Linked DNA regions of Homo sapiens: regions 1, 2, 4, 5 and 6 are each linked to region 3. The links are contacts of gene promoters, found by promoter capture Hi-C in blood cells and fetal thymus (Javierre and others, 2016). All regions are on one chromosome and are shown on one strand. The core of a region is centred on a gene start or on the middle of the fragment in contact, and the rest is flanking DNA. Distances in the headings are between cores, read along the strand shown. Region 1 overlaps PNKD (PNKD metallo-beta-lactamase domain containing). Region 2 overlaps TTLL4 (tubulin tyrosine ligase like 4). Region 3 holds the start of USP37 (ubiquitin specific peptidase 37). Region 4 overlaps TTLL4 (tubulin tyrosine ligase like 4). Region 5 holds the start of SLC11A1 (solute carrier family 11 member 1). Region 6 overlaps STK36 (serine/threonine kinase 36).

What was found. The method cuts DNA at HindIII sites, captures the fragments that hold promoters and counts their contacts. A CHiCAGO score of 5 or more calls a contact.
Region 1: a contact is called between a fragment that was not itself captured here and the fragment with the promoter of USP37 in region 3, in 3 of 17 cell types (total CD8 T cells, naive CD8 T cells and naive B cells). The highest score is 6.6, in total CD8 T cells.
Region 2: a contact is called between a fragment that was not itself captured here and the fragment with the promoter of USP37 in region 3, in 1 of 17 cell types (monocytes). The highest score is 5.6, in monocytes.
Region 4: a contact is called between a fragment that was not itself captured here and the fragment with the promoter of USP37 in region 3, in 2 of 17 cell types (naive B cells and total CD8 T cells). The highest score is 5.5, in naive B cells.
Region 5: a contact is called between the fragment with the promoter of SLC11A1 here and the fragment with the promoter of USP37 in region 3, in 2 of 17 cell types (neutrophils and monocytes). The highest score is 6.0, in neutrophils.
Region 6: a fragment that was not itself captured here is called in contact with the fragment with the promoter of USP37 in region 3 in 9 of 17 cell types (total CD8 T cells, naive CD4 T cells, fetal thymus and 6 more); the score reaches 7.2 in total CD8 T cells.

What each region holds. Positions count from the first base shown.
Region 1 is chr2:218,345,643-218,348,773 of GRCh38, reverse strand. PNKD (PNKD metallo-beta-lactamase domain containing) reads right to left here. Exons shown (of 10, transcript NM_015488.5): 10 at 1,981-3,131. The region is part of intron 2 of CATIP-AS2 (CATIP antisense RNA 2); the gene reads left to right. Among named protein-coding and RNA genes, the nearest start is that of MIR6810, 5.3 kb to the right of the region's middle. The HindIII fragment of the contact is 175 bases long and covers 1,266-1,440 here.
Region 2 is chr2:218,739,933-218,742,913 of GRCh38, reverse strand. TTLL4 (tubulin tyrosine ligase like 4) reads right to left here. Exons shown (of 20, transcript NM_014640.5): 4 at 2,747-2,856; 5 at 2,330-2,393. Among named protein-coding and RNA genes, the nearest start is that of TTLL4, 31 kb to the right of the region's middle. The HindIII fragment of the contact is 2,771 bases long and covers 246-2,981 here.
Region 3 is chr2:218,566,736-218,569,600 of GRCh38, reverse strand. USP37 (ubiquitin specific peptidase 37) reads left to right here and starts at 1,250. Exons shown (of 26, transcript NM_020935.3): 1 at 1,250-1,423. CNOT9 (CCR4-NOT transcription complex subunit 9) reads right to left here and starts at 762. Exons shown (of 8, transcript NM_005444.3): 1 at 623-762. The coding sequence starts at 646. RefSeq lists enhancers at 168-357, 152-779, 780-1,407 and silencers at 1,068-1,127, 1,218-1,287. The HindIII fragment of the contact is 2,574 bases long and covers 1-2,498 here.
Region 4 is chr2:218,718,050-218,720,931 of GRCh38, reverse strand. The region is part of intron 1 of TTLL4 (tubulin tyrosine ligase like 4); the gene reads right to left. Among named protein-coding and RNA genes, the nearest start is that of TTLL4, 8.7 kb to the right of the region's middle. RefSeq lists a silencer at 1,069-1,366. The HindIII fragment of the contact is 161 bases long and covers 1,482-1,642 here.
Region 5 is chr2:218,380,999-218,383,980 of GRCh38, reverse strand. It overlaps SLC11A1 (solute carrier family 11 member 1), which reads right to left and starts at 1,708. Exons shown (of 15, transcript NM_000578.4): 1 at 1,606-1,708; 2 at 879-1,021. The coding sequence starts at 1,612. The HindIII fragment of the contact is 6,449 bases long and covers 65-2,982 here.
Region 6 is chr2:218,701,148-218,703,935 of GRCh38, reverse strand. It overlaps STK36 (serine/threonine kinase 36), which reads right to left. Exons shown (of 27, transcript NM_015690.5): 27 at 1,221-2,070. The coding sequence ends at 1,927. Among named protein-coding and RNA genes, the nearest start is that of TTLL4, 8.3 kb to the left of the region's middle. The HindIII fragment of the contact is 889 bases long and covers 882-1,770 here.

The DNA.
Region 1 (3,131 bases), core at 104-2,603, 220 kb after region 3:
CATTGAGAACGGGCCATGATGACGATGGTGGTTTTGTGGAATAGAAAAGGGGGAAATGCGGGGAAAAGATAGAGAAATCAGATTGTTGCTGTGTCTGTGTAGAAAGAAGTAGACATAGGAGACTCCATTTTGTTCCGTACTAAGAAAAATTCTTCTGCCTTGGGATGCTGTTGATCTATGACCTTACCCCCAACCCTGTGCTCTCTGAAACATGTGCTGTGTCCACTCAGGGTTAAATGGATTAAGGGCGGTGCAAGATGTGCTTTGTTAAACAGATGCTCGAAGGCAGCATGCTCGTTAAGAGTCATCACCACTCCCTAATCTCAAGTACCCAGGGACACAAACACTGCGGAAGGCCGCAGGGTCCTCTGCCTAGGAAAACCAGAGACCTTTGTTCACTTGTTTATCTGCTGACCTTCCCTCCACTATTGTCCTATAACCCTGCCAAATCCCCCTCTGCGAGAAACACCCAAGAATGATCAATTAAAAATAAATAAATAAATAAATAAAAGAAGACATACATGTGGACAACAAACATATGAATAAAAGCTCAACATCACTCATCATTAGAGAAATGCAAATCAAAACCACAATGAGATACCATCTCACACAAGTCAGAATGGCTGTTATTAAAAAGTCAAAAAATAACAGACGCTGGAAAGGTTGTAGAGTAAAAGGAACGCTTATACACTGTTGGCGGGAGTGTAAATTTGTTCAACCAAAGTGGAAGACAGTGTGGTGTTTCCTCAAAGACCTAAAGACAGAACTACCATTCGACCCAGCAATCCCATTACTGGTTATATACCCAAAGGAATATAAGTTGTTCTATTATAATGATATGGTGTGGCTTTTTGTCCCCACCCAAATTTCATCTTTTTTTTTTTTGGGACAGAATCTCCCTCTGTTGCCCAGGCTGGAGTACAGTGGTGCGATCTTGGCCTACTTCAACCTCTGCCTCCCGGGTTCAGCGATTCTCGTGCCTCAGTCTCCTGGGTAGCTGGGATTACAGGCGCTCACCATCATGCCTTGCTAAGTTTTGTATTTTTAGTAGAGACGGGGTTTCACCATGTTGGCCAGGATGGTCGTGATCTCCTGACCTCGTGATCCGCCTGCCTCAGCCTCCCAAAGTGCTGGGATTACAGGCGTGAGCCACCACGCCCGGCCCTTTAATCATTTTTATGAACTGAAAACCAGTGTCACTTGTCAAAAATAAATATTGAACCCAAATATAAATATAATGAAAACAAAACGATGTTGTTAAAGCTTAACTACAGACATTTCCCAACTAAAGTATGAACCTGGATCCCGGGTCTTTCTTTCCAAAGACATTAAAGACAGACTAGTGCCAAGACCGTGTCCTTGAAGTCCAATTGATTGCTGTGCTGTGGCCATGTACAGCCACCCTACTTTGGCCAGTGGTACACTTGTGTATCTCAAGCTTTGGGAAACATTGAGATAAGCAAATCGTAAACCCTGAACAAATGCCCATGGGCCTTGGGAAGAACATATTTTAGGCATCATTTCTCTCTCTCTTTTTAAAAAAATTTTTTTTTTTTTTGAGACAGAGTCTCATTCTGTCGCCCAGGCTGGAGTGCAGTGGTGCGATCTCGGCTCACTGCAACCTCCGCCTCCTGGGTTCACGTGATTCTCCTGCCTCAGCCTCCTGAGTAGCTGGGATTATAGGCTCCTGCCACTATGTCTGGCTAATTTTTTGTATTTGTAGTACAGATGAGGTTTCACTATGTTGGCCAGACTGGTCTCGAACTCCTGACCTTGTGATCCACCCGCCTCAGCCTCCTAAAGAGCTGGGATTATAGGTGTGAGCCACTGCGCCCAGCCTTTGGGCATCATTTCTGATCAAAACTCTTGAAGTGCCTAACTGCAAGTTAGCAGGCCTGGAACTGAGATGGGAAAACTGTGAGAAAGTTCTCTGCTGTTTTCACTCATGTAGCAACAAAGACAAGCTGTTGGGTGATCAAGTCTTGATTAAATCATTCATTCATTCAACATTTATTGAGCGCCTACTGTGTGCTAGGCACCGTGCTAGGCGCAGAAATACAGAGATGCATAAGATACAGTCCATGCCCTTAAGGATTCACAGTCTAGAAGGGGAGACAAACATGTAAACAAGTAAAATACAGTGTGATAAGTGCCACAAGAGAAGCATTGACAAAGTGCAGAGGTAGCCTGGAGGGGAGGGGCACAGGGGTTGCCTTCCTGGAGGAGGGGGCCTTTGAGGGGATCGTGAGAGATGAACTTGCCAGGCAGACAAGGCAGGAGGAGCAGGGGAAGGCATTCCAGTCGGAAGAAACAGCATGAGCGAAGGCACAGAGGCATGAAACTGCATGTCTTGCTTGGTGAGTGGGGAACTCTAACTAGTCTGGTGGTATTGCTAAAGTGTACTAGAGGCTGTGGCTAGAGAAGGGGGCAGAGGCCAGATCATGAGGGGAAACTGAGGGCAGGGGCATCTTGGAGGGTCACCAGAGGTGAGCAGAGCCCGAGGGCAGGCTTTGACACAGGAAAAGAGGGCTCCTGGCTGACTCAAGGTACACCTGCCTGAGGACCACAGGGTTCCTCGCTGTGGCTCCAAAGGGATCTCGACCCAAGAGTAGAGGAGCAGCAGAGCTGGAGGTGAAGCAGAGGGGTCGGGCCAGGTCTGGGACCCAGAGCTGCCATGCACTCCCGCGCTCTCACAGACTTCTGATTTCCAACCTGCACGTCAGAGCCCCCTCCTGCCAGCCGGATGGGGGCCTGGATCCAGTGGGAAATCACATGGGAATATGGCTGGCAAACTGCAAAGGGCCAGATGAGTGTCAGGTTACAGAATAAATCTTTACTAACTCAAAGAAGAAAAGGGCTGCGGATAAAACAGGAAAGGTTAGATGGAGGAAGGCGGGCAGACGGGCCTAAGAACAAGGGCCAAAATGAGAATACAGCATCGGCCAAAGAGGACCGTGGCTGTCTCTCCCCTGGCAAGGAGGGGCCCTTTTGGCCCAGGGCAGAGGCAGAGGCCAGTGGGTACAACCAGGCCAGATGTGCAAGGAGAGCATGTGACCTGCAAGACTGTGGGGCTCCACACTCCAGACTCCAGTGTCTCCTTAGCCCAATGAGGAGGTTTCCTTGGCAATCAG
Region 2 (2,981 bases), core at 382-2,881, 170 kb before region 3:
TGACTTCAACTCATCTACCTGCCTCAGCCTCCCAAAGTGCTGGGGTTACAGGCGTGAGCTACTGCACCCGGCAAGATGTTCTATATCTTGACTCTAACAATGTTAACAACATCCCAAGTGTACTATATTGTACTTCTGCAAGATGTTACCCAATGGGGGAAACTGAGTAGACAGTACAGGGGACCTCTCTGCATTCTTTCTTACAACTGCATGTGAAATCTATAATTATCTCAATATCACAAGCTTAATTTAAAAAACAAACAAAAAACCCTTGTGAGTTGTCTCACAAGAATCCTGAACTTCTCCTCAAGAGACCTGGCTTCTAGTCTAGCCATGCTAGAAACTATGACCTTGGAACAGCTGCTTCACTTCTCTGGTCCTCAATATTTACACTGGACTTGATGGCTTCCATCTCTAAAATTACATGATTCTTAGAGCACAACAACAGGAAATGCAATGAAAGTACTGCTGTGTAAAGAAACAGGTAGTGTTTCCAATGATTTTTCTGTTTTTCAGTGGTTGCCAAATTTTCCATAATATACAAATGTTTCATAATAGAGAAAAAATAAGATTTTAGCAATCCAAAAGTATTTTACTCATCTTTAAAATGCAAAGTGGTTTGGAATTCATCTATCTCCATTTTTGGTCAGGTGCAATGGCTCAGACCACTAATCTCAGTGCTTTGGGAGGCTAAAGCAAGAGGATTACTTGAGGCCAGAGTTCAAGACAAGCCTGGGTAATATAATGAGACCTTCCCCCACAACTCTACAAAAAAAATTTTTTTTAATTAGCTGGGTGTGGTGGGTGGTCCTGTAGTCCCAGCTGCTCAGGAGGCTGAGGCAGGAGTATTGCTTGAGCCCAGGAGTTCGAGGTTACAGTAAGCTATGATGGATCCACTGCACTCTAGCCTGGGCAACAGAGCAAGACTCTGACTCTAAAAAATAAAAATATATATTTCCATTTTCTTGAAAATTATGTTTAAGCCTCATATAGAGAAAAAGTTATGTGCAATTTGTAGAAGTTAATTAATTAATGAGCAAATGATTAACAAACACCTTTTGTGAATTTTATCTTATATATCAGGAAGGCTAAAGGGTTGTGTAGCAGTCCTGAAGTAGGCCCTTAAGTGTAAAAAAGGTAGGACTCCAAATCAATTACATGTCAAATATCTTTCTCCTATGAAGAGTGGAGGTACTTAATCAATATCCAATATATATAACCTGAAGTAGTTCTGCTTTTCTGGAAGGAGGATGGGTTGGGCTGAAAGTGACAATTTATGCATCAGACTCAGGGTGCCCGTGATGGGATTTCTATCCACCTTCACAGAGAATCCCAGTTCTCGCTCCCACTTTCCAAACAGCTCTGTCTCCACCTTGCAGGTTAGGGGCTCTAAAATTGGTGTGCTGCTGCCACACCATAACATTTCACAGAGATGCAGCCTGTCTTGTCCATGCTAAACGAGGCAGAGAAGGCTCACTTTCTTCTTAGCTTCATCTAAGGCAGGGTTGATGCAAAGAAAAACAACCCGACTCTGGGTGCTCCATATATTGGTCAAGCCCAGTGATATACAGGTTTTAATTAAAAGTTAGGGCCAGGTGCAGTGGCTCAGCCCTATAATCCGAGCACTTTGGGAGGCCAACGATTACAGGTGTGTGCCACCATACCCAGCTAATTGTTTCCATTTTTAGTAGAGATGGGGTTTCACCACGTTAGCCAGCCTGGTCTCTAACTCCTGGCCTCAAGTGATCCACCCATCTTAGTCTCCCAAAGTGTTAGGATTACAGGCATAAGCCACTGCGCCCAGCCCATTATACTGTTGTTGTTGTTGTTGTTTTGTTTTTGAGACAAAGTCTTGCTCCATCACCCAGGCTGGAGTGCAGCAGCGCGATCTCAGCTCACTGCAACCTCCACTTCCCAGGTTCAAGTGATTCTCGTGCCTCAGCCTCCCGAGCAGCTGGGATTACAGGTGTGCACCACCATACCTTGCTAATTTTTATATTTTTAGTAGAGACAGGGTTTTGCCATGTTGGCTTGGCTAGTCTCGAACTCCTGACCTCAGGAGATCCGCCTGCCTCAGCTTCCAAAGTGCTGGGGTTACAGGTGTGAGCCACTGCGCCTGGCCCATGATACTGTTTTTAAGCCCCACAGATGAGATGTGCTTCTGGCCCCCCATTACTCCCTGTTCAAAAACTAAAGTCGCAAACATAAAAATTTGGTAAAAATGCATTAGAGTTCTCCAGGCCATTAATGACTTGAGTGGTTTATCTCTTTATAATCTTTAAGAGACAAAAGATGAGCATGTAACAATGATCTATACAGCCACACTTACCTAGAGATCATGGCCACCGATTCGCTGGGGGAGACAGCACTTAATGAGGAGCACTCTGAGTCTCCTAGAGGAAGGAAGAACAGAGAAATTCTGACTAGAAGAGGCTGCAGCACAAACTTACCAAGCCTAGGCAACTCTTCCTTGAATATCCTGGGCTCAACCCTTCTTGGGGAGCCACAAGCACCACCCCGCTGCTTTGCACTGCCTTCCTCAACAGAAGCAGCGGGAAGGTAAGACCAGTGGGACAGGAGGACTAGAGACCCAAGTCCTCTAGAAGGCACTACCCCCACTTAAGACCCCCAAAGCAAATGACTGATGTAGGTAATGTGAGTCAAGGACCTAGTACACAATTGTCAGCCCCCTGCCCAACAGGTCATAACCAACTCCTAGTTGGAAGTGAAAGGGTTTCCTACTCACCCTCCTCCTCTTCATTCTCATCACGGCTACAACAGTCTTCCAAACCATCTACTAGTTCTTCTTCTGTATCTTCAGTCTCAGCCTGATCTGGCTGGAGGTCAGTAGCTGAACTAAAAGAAAGAATCATGCCCCCAGCCTAGTCAACTCCATCAAAGAGGTCACAGTTAGATTCTCATTCCTTCATCATCTCCCAGTATTTGCCCCTTCTCCATTACCAATCTGCTACTTCTTGCCT
Region 3 (2,865 bases), core at 1-2,500:
CAAGGAGTCTAGATTTTATTTAAATGCCAAGAGAAGTAGGATTACTTCGGATAGCTGAATTACACTATCTTTCTTTTTTGTTAAAAGATCACGCGGGTAAAACGAGATGTGTCGAGGAAAAGTTTTAAATGCAGAGAACCTAAGTCAGATGCAAAAATTATGCACTTTTCCGGGCCTCAGGTTTTCCATAAATAAAGCAAGTGGTTTGAACTAGAAGCCATTTCCTTCCCGCTGCGACGTGGTGAGTTCTAAGAGCAGGGGCCGCGTCAGATTGACCATGGAATTCCCCTCATCGACGCCGGCGCCCAGAACACAACTGGCGCCCTGAAACTGTTGGTCAGCGCAATAAATCAATGAATGGCCTGCTACGGGCGTGGGACCAGGCCCCGGCGCCCGCAAAGAACGCGATGGGTCGCGCTGAAGGCCGCGAGAGGCGTCCGGCAAGGAAATAGGGGCCGGCTCCACCACAACCAAAGCGTGCCGAGGAGGGGAACCGGGGCCTTGGAGATTGAGGGCAGAAAAAAATCAGACTAGGGACCCGACACCGGGAATTAGGAGAGAAGGCCGAAACGTGGGTCTGAGAAAGGATTCTGGTTCCAAGCCTGGGGGCCCAGCCACTCACCGCAGCCGTCGCCAGGCTGTGCATGTTGTGAGCGGCCGCCGCTCTCTTCCACAGCCGGACGCGTCCGACCCGCGTCCCCCCTTCAGCACCCCTGCAGCGGAAAACAATGAGCCGCCGTAGCCGCCATCCGACTCCGGCTCGCTCCGCCCACTTCGCGGCCCTCTGACCTCTCACCCCTGACCCCACCCACACATCCTCTTCCCGCCTCCAGGGCCTAGTTAACAGTCCCAGAGTATGTCCTTTGCCCCTTAAGATTTAGGACCGGAAGGACGTCCGCGACCACTAGTCCCCGCAACTTCTGGCTTTGAGCAGTTATTTCCAGAGAGCGGCGTGAACTCTGACCCTCCTCCAAAAGCCAGTGAACGGCGGGAAAAGATGGACAGTCCCGGCAAGACAACTATTGCGCATGCCCGACTGGGTTGCGTAGGAGGGAAATGGTGGGGGGGCGTCGAAATCGGGTGAGGTGGAAAGTGCGCGTGCCTACTACAGTCACGGCAGGGGCGGGGCTGCCCGGGCTAGGCCGCTCTAGGTACTGGCGGGGCGGGGCGAGGGCGTGTGAGGGGCGGAGTTTTCGACTGACGCGCACGCGCCTGTCTGGTCGCGTCGAGTGTGCGTGCGTGCGTGCGTGTTTGCGTGTGGTCACAGTTCCCGCCATCAGCCGCTCTCCCTGACTAGGGGTAGCTAGCGGCCTCCCTCCTTTGGGTTCGGTATCCCTACTTCCATTACCCTCGGCTCCTCCCACTCCTCGCGGGCTCCGTGCTTTCCGCGGGTCTGTCCGGGGGCTCCGGACCCTCGGCGCAGGTAAGGCGGGCCGGGGTAGCTTCTCAATTGAGCCGTTTTCCCTACCTCCTCCTCCTTCTGTGCGATCCGCCCACTCGGCGTTCACTCCTCTGGAGTTCGCCCTGCTGCTACTCAGCCCGCCCACAACCCCTCGATGCACCCCCAGCCTCACAGGTACTACCTTTGGGTGCACTGCCCCGGCTTCCACCTCTCCTTTGACTTGGTCTCCACTGCCACTCGCTCCCTCCGAAACTCAAACCTGGCCCCTTTTCTCTGGGGCTGTTGTCGTTCGCCTCTTACCTTCTAACAGGGCCTGCTGTCTCTTCAGGTGACTTTCGTTACGGCACATCCACCAGGCCTTGGACATGATACTCATTCACTCTCTTGACCATCTTCACCTTCCTCTTGACCAGTCCTCACTGCAAAACATGAATTGTATTTTTGTTGTGCATTTCCTTGCGCCCATTTCTAGCCGCCAGATCAGGTTGTTAGATGTAACTATTTTAAGTCATGATCCATGAAAGGAAATGATGATTGATGATAAAATCCTGTGTCCTGAAGAGTTGTCCTAAAGTGGTTTTGGGGTATTCCTCTCAAAATTTCAGCTCTGTATAAATTCCTTTATTGAGGTGGCAATTCCTGACAAGTGTCTAACTGGAAGAGATACCTGAGAGGGAATGTCAAGTAGGCAGTTGGATATAGTGGGTTTGGAGATCTTAGGAGAGTTCTGGGCTGCGTACGTAAATGTGCGCGGTGTGTGTATGTGTTTGTCATCTGCCATATTGATAGTAATTGAAGCCATGGATGTGGATGAAATTGCCGAAAAAGAGTATAGTGCTGTAAAATAAAGGCACCTAGGATGGAGCATTGACGAATTCCTGCTGTTTAATAACCAATAGAGGAGGATGCGTCTTGCAAGCCATGAAAAAAGTCATCAGTAGTGTTGCATTCTGCTGAAAGGTAAAATGGAAGGAGGACTGAAAAACCCAGTGATATAAAAGTACTCACTTGTCTTAAAGATGTTTGATGAAGTAAAATGAGTATTTGGGTTCAGTCCTAGGTCCTCTTCTTTTACTCTTATATTCCTCCCTAAGCTTTAAATTTGATCTATATATTGATGACTTAAAAATTGTTATTTCCAGCCTATTCCCTTTGTTTTCAGCTCCACATCTAGATAGCCAGCTGTCTGCTTGACATCTCAACTTGATTTTTTTCTTAGGAGTTTCAGATGCAACACAGCCAAATCCAAAGCCTTGATCTTTCTCTCCATATCGAAATTCTTTCTTCTCCAGTGTCCCAGTTTATTAAGTGGCACATGACACAGGCTACACACTTGGGAGGCATTCTTGACTTCTACTCTCTCCAAGTTCTATCCTACTTCCAATACGTGTCTTGCATCTTTTTCTGTACATTTTCACTGTCACTTTTCTAGTTTAAGCCACAGTCCTTAAAAAACCTGGACT
Region 4 (2,882 bases), core at 313-2,812, 150 kb before region 3:
TAGTCAGCTCAATCTTTGGCTCCACTCCCCTTCCCAGAAGGTGGGGGATGGAACTGAAAGTTCCAACCCTCTAATCACATGGTTGGTTCTCTCGGCAATCAGCCTCCCATCTTGAGGCTATTCAGGAGTCCCCAGCTATCAATCATCTCATTAGCATATAAAAAGACACTTATCACTTACAAGTTCTGAAGGTTTTAGGAGCCAGGAACCAGGGGCACACCCCAATTATGTATTTCTTTCTTTTTTTTTTTTTTTTTGAGACCGGAGTCTCACTGTGTTGCCCAGGCTGGAGTGCAATGGTACGATCTCGGCTCGCTGCAACCTCTGCCTCCCGCGTTCATGCAATTCTCCCGCCTCAGCCTCCCGAATAGCCGGGATTACAGGCACCCGCCATCGTGCCCGGATAATTTTTGTATTTTTGTAGAGACAGGGTTTCACCATGCTGACCAGGCTGGAGTATTTCTTATTATATCACAATATCACATCAGCAAAGCCACGAGTTGGACCTATTCATATGAAAAAGGCGTTCCCCTCTTACCACCATCTCCTTGTTGCTATTTTTTACTCAGTGCGTGCACTCTGCCACAGCTGTACCCAACCCCTTCAATAGTGTCTTTCCTCCTCCTGAGGCCAATCCAAAATCCTCCAGTTCTTTCATCCTCCCCCACATCAAATCAATCTCTCTCACAATGTCAACTATTATCTGCAGAAGAGTCATTTTGCAGATTTGTCGTCTCAAGTTTCATGTCTGCATCACCAACTGCCTGTTCCACCTTTCCAAATGCATGTCCAACCACTTCAATCTAGTGTGTCAAACTAGCTCTCCACTCCTGATCGTCCCATTTCCTTGAGTGGACCCTTCTTTCTCCAAATCACCTAAGAGGAAAACTAAGTTATTTCTGACTTTTTCCTTTACTTTATTTCCCCAAAGGGAAACCAGTCATGAAATTTAAGACACTCTGTCTACTTAGCATTCTTCCTCCTTTTATTATTTCCACCATGCCCCTAGATCTGGACTTACTGCAACAGCACTGACTGAAGCATGTGTCTCCAAGGTGTGCCCTTCCTAATTCCACCCTGCAGGCAACCTCCAGATTAATTTTGCTGTATTGCTTCATCAGGTCAATCCCTTTTCAAAAACGGTCCATGAGCACTTACTAAACACTGTGGTGGCCCACCTGCATCAGAATAACCTGAGATGCAAAGTCCTGAGATTCACCTTCAAGAGGATTCAGTTGGTGTGGAGTAGGGCCATGAGTCTGCAGTTTTAACAAGCATTCCAGATGACTGTCATGTGAGATTTCTTAGCTTTGGTCCACAAGACTCCATAGTCGACCCTTAATCTTTTTTTTTTTTTTTTTAAGGCTTATTTCCATTTCCTCCTACCTTGAACTCTGTTATGTGAACTGCGCTGGTCTTACACTAAATTCCTGGAATAAACCTTTCAAATGCCTGTCTGCAGGGCTTTACTCCACTAAGCTTCTTCCTTGTGAATCCTTACCATATTTTATTTACCTTTTCCAGACCCAGCTCAAGACCCACCCTCTCCACGAGCACCTGTTGTGTGTCCCTCTCACGTGATACTTTCCCAAGGCTATCTCACACCACTGTTCACTTACCCTAGTGATATGCCCTATAAGCTTCATGATGGCTTTTATAGGAAATCTCTGGGGATCTTTAACCTCAAATACAGAGCCACGCTGGCAGAAGGGGGTGGGAAGAACCCTGGTCCAGTTTGGCCTCCTATTAGCAATATTGCCCAAGTCTCCTCCCCCAACAACTTTATGGAACACTAAGTCTTCCTAGAACAAAAGTTTTTAAAAAATTGACTTAGAAACGATGGATATGTTCAATGTGAATTATACCTCCACAAAACTGTTAAAAATAAAAATAAAACTTGAATAAAGGGGTAAGAGTGAAGAATAAAAAACTGCAGAAAGTTGTATGGATCAACAAAATGGCCTGAAACATCCCCTTCTATTTGCATGGCTGCCTCAGCCCAGTCTCCAACCCCTCTAACACCAAGTGCAGGACTGTTAAGGTAAGCAGCCTGACTGATGTCCCTGGCTCCAGACTCTCCCCTTTAAAACACCCATTCTCAGGAATCTGAACATCCTACTTTGTCATCTTCATGCAGCATTTGGAAACTGCCTATACAGTTCTGTCCTCCAATCTTTATGGGGTGATTTTGCCTCAAGTTTCCTCCTTAAAGGAGTGTGAATGATTAGTAGCCTATGTTAGAAAATCTATTGCTGGCCGGGCGCAGTGGTTCATGCCTGAAATCCCAGTACTTTGGGAGGCCGAGGTGGGCAGATCACCTGAGGTCGAGAGTTCGAAACCAGCCTGAGCAACATGGAGAAACCCCATTTCTACTAAAAATACAAAACTAGCCAGGCATGGTGGTGCATGCCTGTAATCCCAGCTACTTGGGAGGTGGAGGCAGGAGAATCGCTTGAACCTGGGAGGCAGAGGTTGCGGTGAGCCGAGATTGCGCCATTGCACTCCAGCCTGGGCAACAAGAGTGAAACTGCGTCTCAAAAGAAAAAAAAAAAAGAAAAGAAAATCTATTGCTGCTGTCGCAAACCAACAAGTCTCCAGGGACCAGGCCCAGACCAACTTGGACAAGGTATCTATTTCTAGAGAAAGCAATTATTCATTACCCACTAATTAAATCACTCTCCTACAAGAGAGTGTGGCTCTTGGGAAATGCAGTTTCCCTTTCCTCCTTCAACTAGGTGTTTCCCTCGGTCACCAGGGAAACTCAGGACATCAGAAATGGTTCAGTCTACAGTCCACAAGATCTCTGATGAGATTACCTCAACTGCTCAACAGTTATGTTAGAAGATAGAACTGACAGGCTCACGCCTGTAATCCCAACACTT
Region 5 (2,982 bases), core at 459-2,958, 190 kb after region 3:
CCTGACTTGTCAGGTCCTCAGAGACCTCACAGGGGGCTGTCTAAGGGGGTGAGGGGGCCAAGCTTCCCTAGCCCAGCTCCTCCCTTGCCAGCTCCTTTTCAGACCACGGGGCCTCCTCTCTGTGGTCCGCTGAGGCTATGGTCCCCCCACCCTGTTCCAGAGCATGGCATATTGACTTAGAAATCTGCTGAAGATATTGGAGGCTGGGAGCGTTGGCTCGTGTCTGTAATCCCAGCACTTTGGAAGGCCGAGGTGGGTGGATCACTTGAGCTAAGGAGTTTGAGACCAGCCTGGCCAACATGGTGAAACCCTGTCTCTAGTAAAAATACAAAAATTAGCCTGGCATGGTGGTGCATGCCTGTAATCCCAGCTACTCGGGAGGCCGGGGCAGGAGAATCGCTTAAACTTGGGAAGCGGAGGTTGCAGTGAGCTGAGATCGCGCCACTGCACTCCAGCCTGGGCTACAGAGCGAGACTCCATCTCCAAAAAAAGAGAAGATACTGGAAATGCAGGTGACAGCATCCTAGATGCTAGATGCCAGCCTGCAGCCTCCTTCACTTCTCCCTATGCCCTTTCCTAAATGCTATAACATGTCCTCAAGGCTCCAATCCCAATTCCCCCTGGGCCTCTTTTCCTTCATAGGAAAGCTGAGATTCATTGAGAAAGTCATTTAATCGCTTTTAGACAAATACTGAAGCACCCCAGCTAAGCACTGGGGACGGAAGCAGGAAGGGGCAGTTGCCACTGTCCACCACTGCTGCTCAGACCTGGAAGGGACTTGCCACCCATGATCATAAGGAGACCCCATTCTCCAGCCCATGGGATCCTTCAGGATCCTGTCAATCTTGCAAGCCCCCAGGAAGTTTCCAGCATCCCACCGGTTTTGTGTCTGGGATGGGGATCTTCTCACTCAGGTAGGTCTCTCTGGGAGGTGCTTGCTGTGGCCCTGGGCTGGTCGGGCTGGTCGGGCTGGAGATGGAACCATAGCTGGACCCGCTTAGCCTTTGGGGACCCTTGTCACCTGTGGGGGCCCATGAAGCATGGTGAGTGTCCTGCCTCTTTCTGGTGGCCCAGAGTTAAAGCCGCCTGATCCTTTCCCTCCTCCTCCCGGAAAAGTGGAGAAACTAAGGTCCCTGGCCCCCATCTTGGGTCCATCACCTCCACCTCTCAAACAAACATTCCAGATGTGTGGGACATGGCAGCTTCAGAATTACTGTCCTCTCATGTGAGGACAGATGCCCAGAGGCAGATCTCCTGCCACAGAGAATGCAGAGAGACCCTAGGCTCTAAGAAGGGCAAGCTGAGGCCACATGTCTGCCCCTTGGCTGGACCCCTCACCTTCTCCGGCAGCCCAGAAAGCTCCAGGGGCTTTGATCCACGGACTTCAGACAAAGGAAAGGTAGACCGCTTAGGGGTGTGAAGGACTCCACCCAGTGAGATTGAGTCTGGTGTCCAGAACTGTGTTCTAGACTAGGACTCCCACGGGGGACCAGAGGCTTCCACAGGGGACCAAGGGCTTTCTTGCTTCCTCAAGTCTCCACCAGCCTAGTGATCTCCTCCACTCCACCCCCCAATCAGGCTCTGTCCCTAGGGGCCACTACTCACCTGTCATTGAAATGCCGACTTCAGGTACTCTGGGAGTGTGAGCGGTGCTCTGGGCAGCTCCTCAGCCTGCACCCCCTCTCTGGGCACTGGTGCAAGTAAGTGTGCCAGCCCACGCCCTGTTACCCATCCGCAGCCGAGTGCCCTGCCTCTTACATCAACATTCGGTTCACATCGGCCGATTCACACACACACACAACATGGGGCGTTGTGAAACATTTTCCAAAGGCAGAAGTGGCCAGCCCTGGCGGAAGGGTCTGGTTACCCATGGAGTGGACCTTTGTTCCCCTCCCAGCCTGCCCTGTGCCCCACAACACATCTGTTCCCCTTCCAGGCACCCCGTGTTCTGTGCCTCCCAAGTTAGCTCTGATTTCAGATGCTTCCTGCCCCTTGCGTATTCATGTCAATACCCCATGACCACACCCCCCTCTGCCACACACACACACACACACGTACACACACACGTACACACACACAGAGTCAGGTCTTTCTTATTCTCTTTGATCTGGAGTTCCAAGACCCCTCGTTGGCCTAATGCGAGTCTTCATGTCCTCAAAGGCTTCAGTTTCCCTTTGAGGGCCACAGAGGAAGGCACTGCAGAAGGGACATGCATTGAAGATTCAGACCCAGGACGTCCCCAGAAGATGGGGCACTGGGATCTGGTCCTGGTTCAACCACTGATTCACTTGAGATTGTCACCAGATCATGTCCCTTCTCAGAGTTGTTTATTCTATTCCACCCCCACCCTTTTTTTTTTTGGTTTTTCGTTTTTTGTTTTTTTTTTTAGAGACAAGGTCTCGCTCTGTCACCCAGGCTAGAGTGAGGTGTGAAGTGCAGTGGTGCCATCTTAGTTTACTGCAGCCTCAAACTCCTTTTTTTTTTTTTTTTGAGACAGAGTCTTACTCTGTTGCCCAGACTGGAGTGCAGTGGCATAATCTCAGCTCACTGCAACCTCTGTCCTCCATGTTTAAGCAATTCTCCTGCCTCAGCCTCCTGAGTAGCTGGGACTACAGGCATGCACCACCACACCCGGCTACTTTTTGTATGTATGTATGTATGTATGTATTTATTTACTTTGAGATGGCGTCTTGCTCTGTCACCCAGGCTGAAGTGCAATGGCGCGACCTTGGCTCACCGAAACCTCTGCCTCTTGGGTTCAAGTAATTCTTCTTCCTCAGCCTCCTGAGTAGCTGGGATTACAGGCACCTGCCAACCACACCTGGCTAATTTTTGTATTTTTAGTAGAGATGGGATTTCACCATGTTGGCCAGGCTGGTCTCAAACTCCTGACCTTGTGATCCGCCCGCCTCAGTCTCCCAAAGTGCTGGGATTACAGGTGTGAGCCACTGTGCCCAGCCAATTTTTGTATTTTTTTTAGTA
Region 6 (2,788 bases), core at 77-2,576, 130 kb before region 3:
GTCGCCATCCAGGACACCATTGTCTCTTGCCTGGATTATTATAACAATAGCCTCCTAACTGCTTATCCTACTTCGCATTCTCCCCTACTCCCCATAGCCATTCACAAGACCAGAATGAAGAATGATCCGTTTAGGATGCAAGGTAGTTCATAAAATTCTCTGTTCAAAAGCCTGCAATAGATGCCTCCTTCATTCAAAGTAAGAGCCCAAGTCTTCACCAAGGTCTACAAAGCCTACAATATCTGGCCCCCACCATTACCTTCCTGTCTCATTTCCTACTATTCTCCACCTTCTTTACTCACTTAATCCATACTGGTTCCTCATAGCTCCTCAAGCATGCCAGGCATGCTTTCATCTCAGGGCCTTGGCTTTTCCCCAAAATAGGTGCACAACTCACTCCCTCGCCTCCTTCGAGTCTTTTCTCAAGTGTCACCTTCTAGTGAGGCCTACCCTGACCATCCGACTCAGCACTCCTCATCTCCTTTCCCTGGTTTCTTTTTCTCCATAGCTTTTACCACCTTCCTACATACTATTCTTTTAATAATTTCACTATCTCCCCGACCAGAATGGAAACTCTATGATGGGCACTGTTTTATCTCCTGTACCTAGAATAGTATCTGGCATACAGAAAGGACTCAAAAAATATACATTGAACTGAATTGAGATAATCTGGATAGAAGAAAATTATGGTGCTCCCTAGAAAAATATTATTTTTGCTAAAGTATAAACACTGTGGACAATGAAGATGAGGGTTAAACAAAATTTCTTATAAAAATAAGGGCACTTTACTTGTCTTTCATTTCTAAAACAACTGGAATTTAAGGAAGGACAGAAAGGAGTCTCCTCATTTTATGGATGGAGAAATCAAGGCCCTGGAAGCTTGTTCTAAGCCATCCAATGAGTTAAGGTTTTCCAATGCTTCCAGTTAGATTATAATTCTAACAGGTCTGACTAAAAGCCCTTTCTGGTAAATTGTACAATCTTTAAAATAGCTATCCTTCTACAGCAGCTTGGAGTCCCTACACATTAGAACTCCACTAAATATTAAAATTAGTCACTAAGTCTGAGCAACCTAATTGACCGCTCTGTTGAATCTTACCCTTTCCTATTTCAGCTCCACCGGCCTTGACTTGAAAGTAGGTAACCAAATATAGTTCATCTAGGAAGGGGGAAATTGGTAAAGGCAAGAAATGATATAAATAAGCTGCCAGACCAGGATCTTGTGTGAACACGATACCAGCACCTCCAACACCACATAGAAGCTGAAAGAGGGGTTGAGCCTCTCAACCCTTGTCCTGGGAGCTTCAAGTATGGTGAGGCACAACTTTTATTAAAAGAGTTTACAAACAGAACTATTAAACACACACACACATACACACACACATATACACACACACCCCAAAAAAAGATACACTCTCCACGCCCACCCACAGATAGGAATGTTGGCTAAGGGATAATCCCTCAATAACAGGGACTGATGGCATTGATCCCCACAGCCTAGAGCTGAGACAGGCTCTGTCTTCATCACTGTCCTGGGGCCAGCACGTCTAAGGCAAAAACCTGCTGGGAAGATTAAAGGAGCTCCAGAAAGGAAGAGATCTTTCAGGTTGAGGTTTTTCCCTAAGGTCCGTGAGGCAGGTCCCTAGAGTTAAAGGCACATTATTGGAGAAAAGGCCCCTGGATGTAGAGAAGAAAGGACTCTTCTCTGGCACCAACAGCAATAAAATTTACTGGTTGAAAACATCCTGCATCTGGGAGAAGGAAGAAGCTTTATATATAAATCTCTTCTAGTTTCTTGTTCTCAGTTGAGTTGGCAGCTTATCTCTTTTCTAGTCTCTTTAGCTCTCAGTTGAGTTGGCGGCTTGTGTAGTAGAATAAGAAAGAGCTGGCAACCAAAGTTGGAGGCTGGACCGCAGGAATCTGGAATCACATGCTATGGGCTGGCCTCAGGAGGTGAATGAGTTTCCTGCAGTGTTTGGCAGAGGCAGGCCTAGGACTGCTGTGTGGCAGTGACTGATTCCCCAGAGAGAGCAAGGATAGTTTCTCACTGGCACCCAGGGACACCAGTACCTGTAGGATAGAGAACAGATGATAGAACAGAACATGAGGCTCAGAAATGGTGGTGTCTGGGGCAGGTGCGGAGGACTCTCATTTACCCAGGAATTCCCACTCGAGAAGAGGAAGAAAAAGGAAATGGGCTCTTGGGGACTTGGAATAGACTGAATGGCAGAAGAGAAACCTTGGAGATAGGAATCATCAGGACCAGAAGTCTACTTCCATTCTCTTTGGTTATAGACCATGAAACCAAGGCACTAAGGGACACATATACTTGTCCCCAGGAAGACTTGATGAATGCAGCAGTAACTCACAGTAAGCCAAAAGGTCTAATTCCTAGCCTTCAATGCAGACCAGTGAGTTCTAACCTCATTACCACCAAGAATCCCATTAATTATTTTCCCCATGGATTGCACAAGATTCCTATAGGATCTTCACCATCGGCCAGGCAAGGTGGCTCATGCCTGTAATCCCGTACTTTGGGAGGCCAAGGCGGGCGGGTCACGAGGTCAGGACATCGAGACCATCCTGGCTATCACGGTGAAACCCCGTCTCTACTAAAAAAAAAAAAAATACAAAAAATTAGCTGGGTGTGGCGGCAGGTGCCTGTAGTCCCAGCTACTCGGGAGGCTGAGGCAGAATGGCGTGAACCCGGGAGGCAGAGCTTGCAGTGAGCCAAGATCGCGCCACTGCACTCCAGCCTGGGGGCGACAAAGTGAGACTCCGTCTCAAA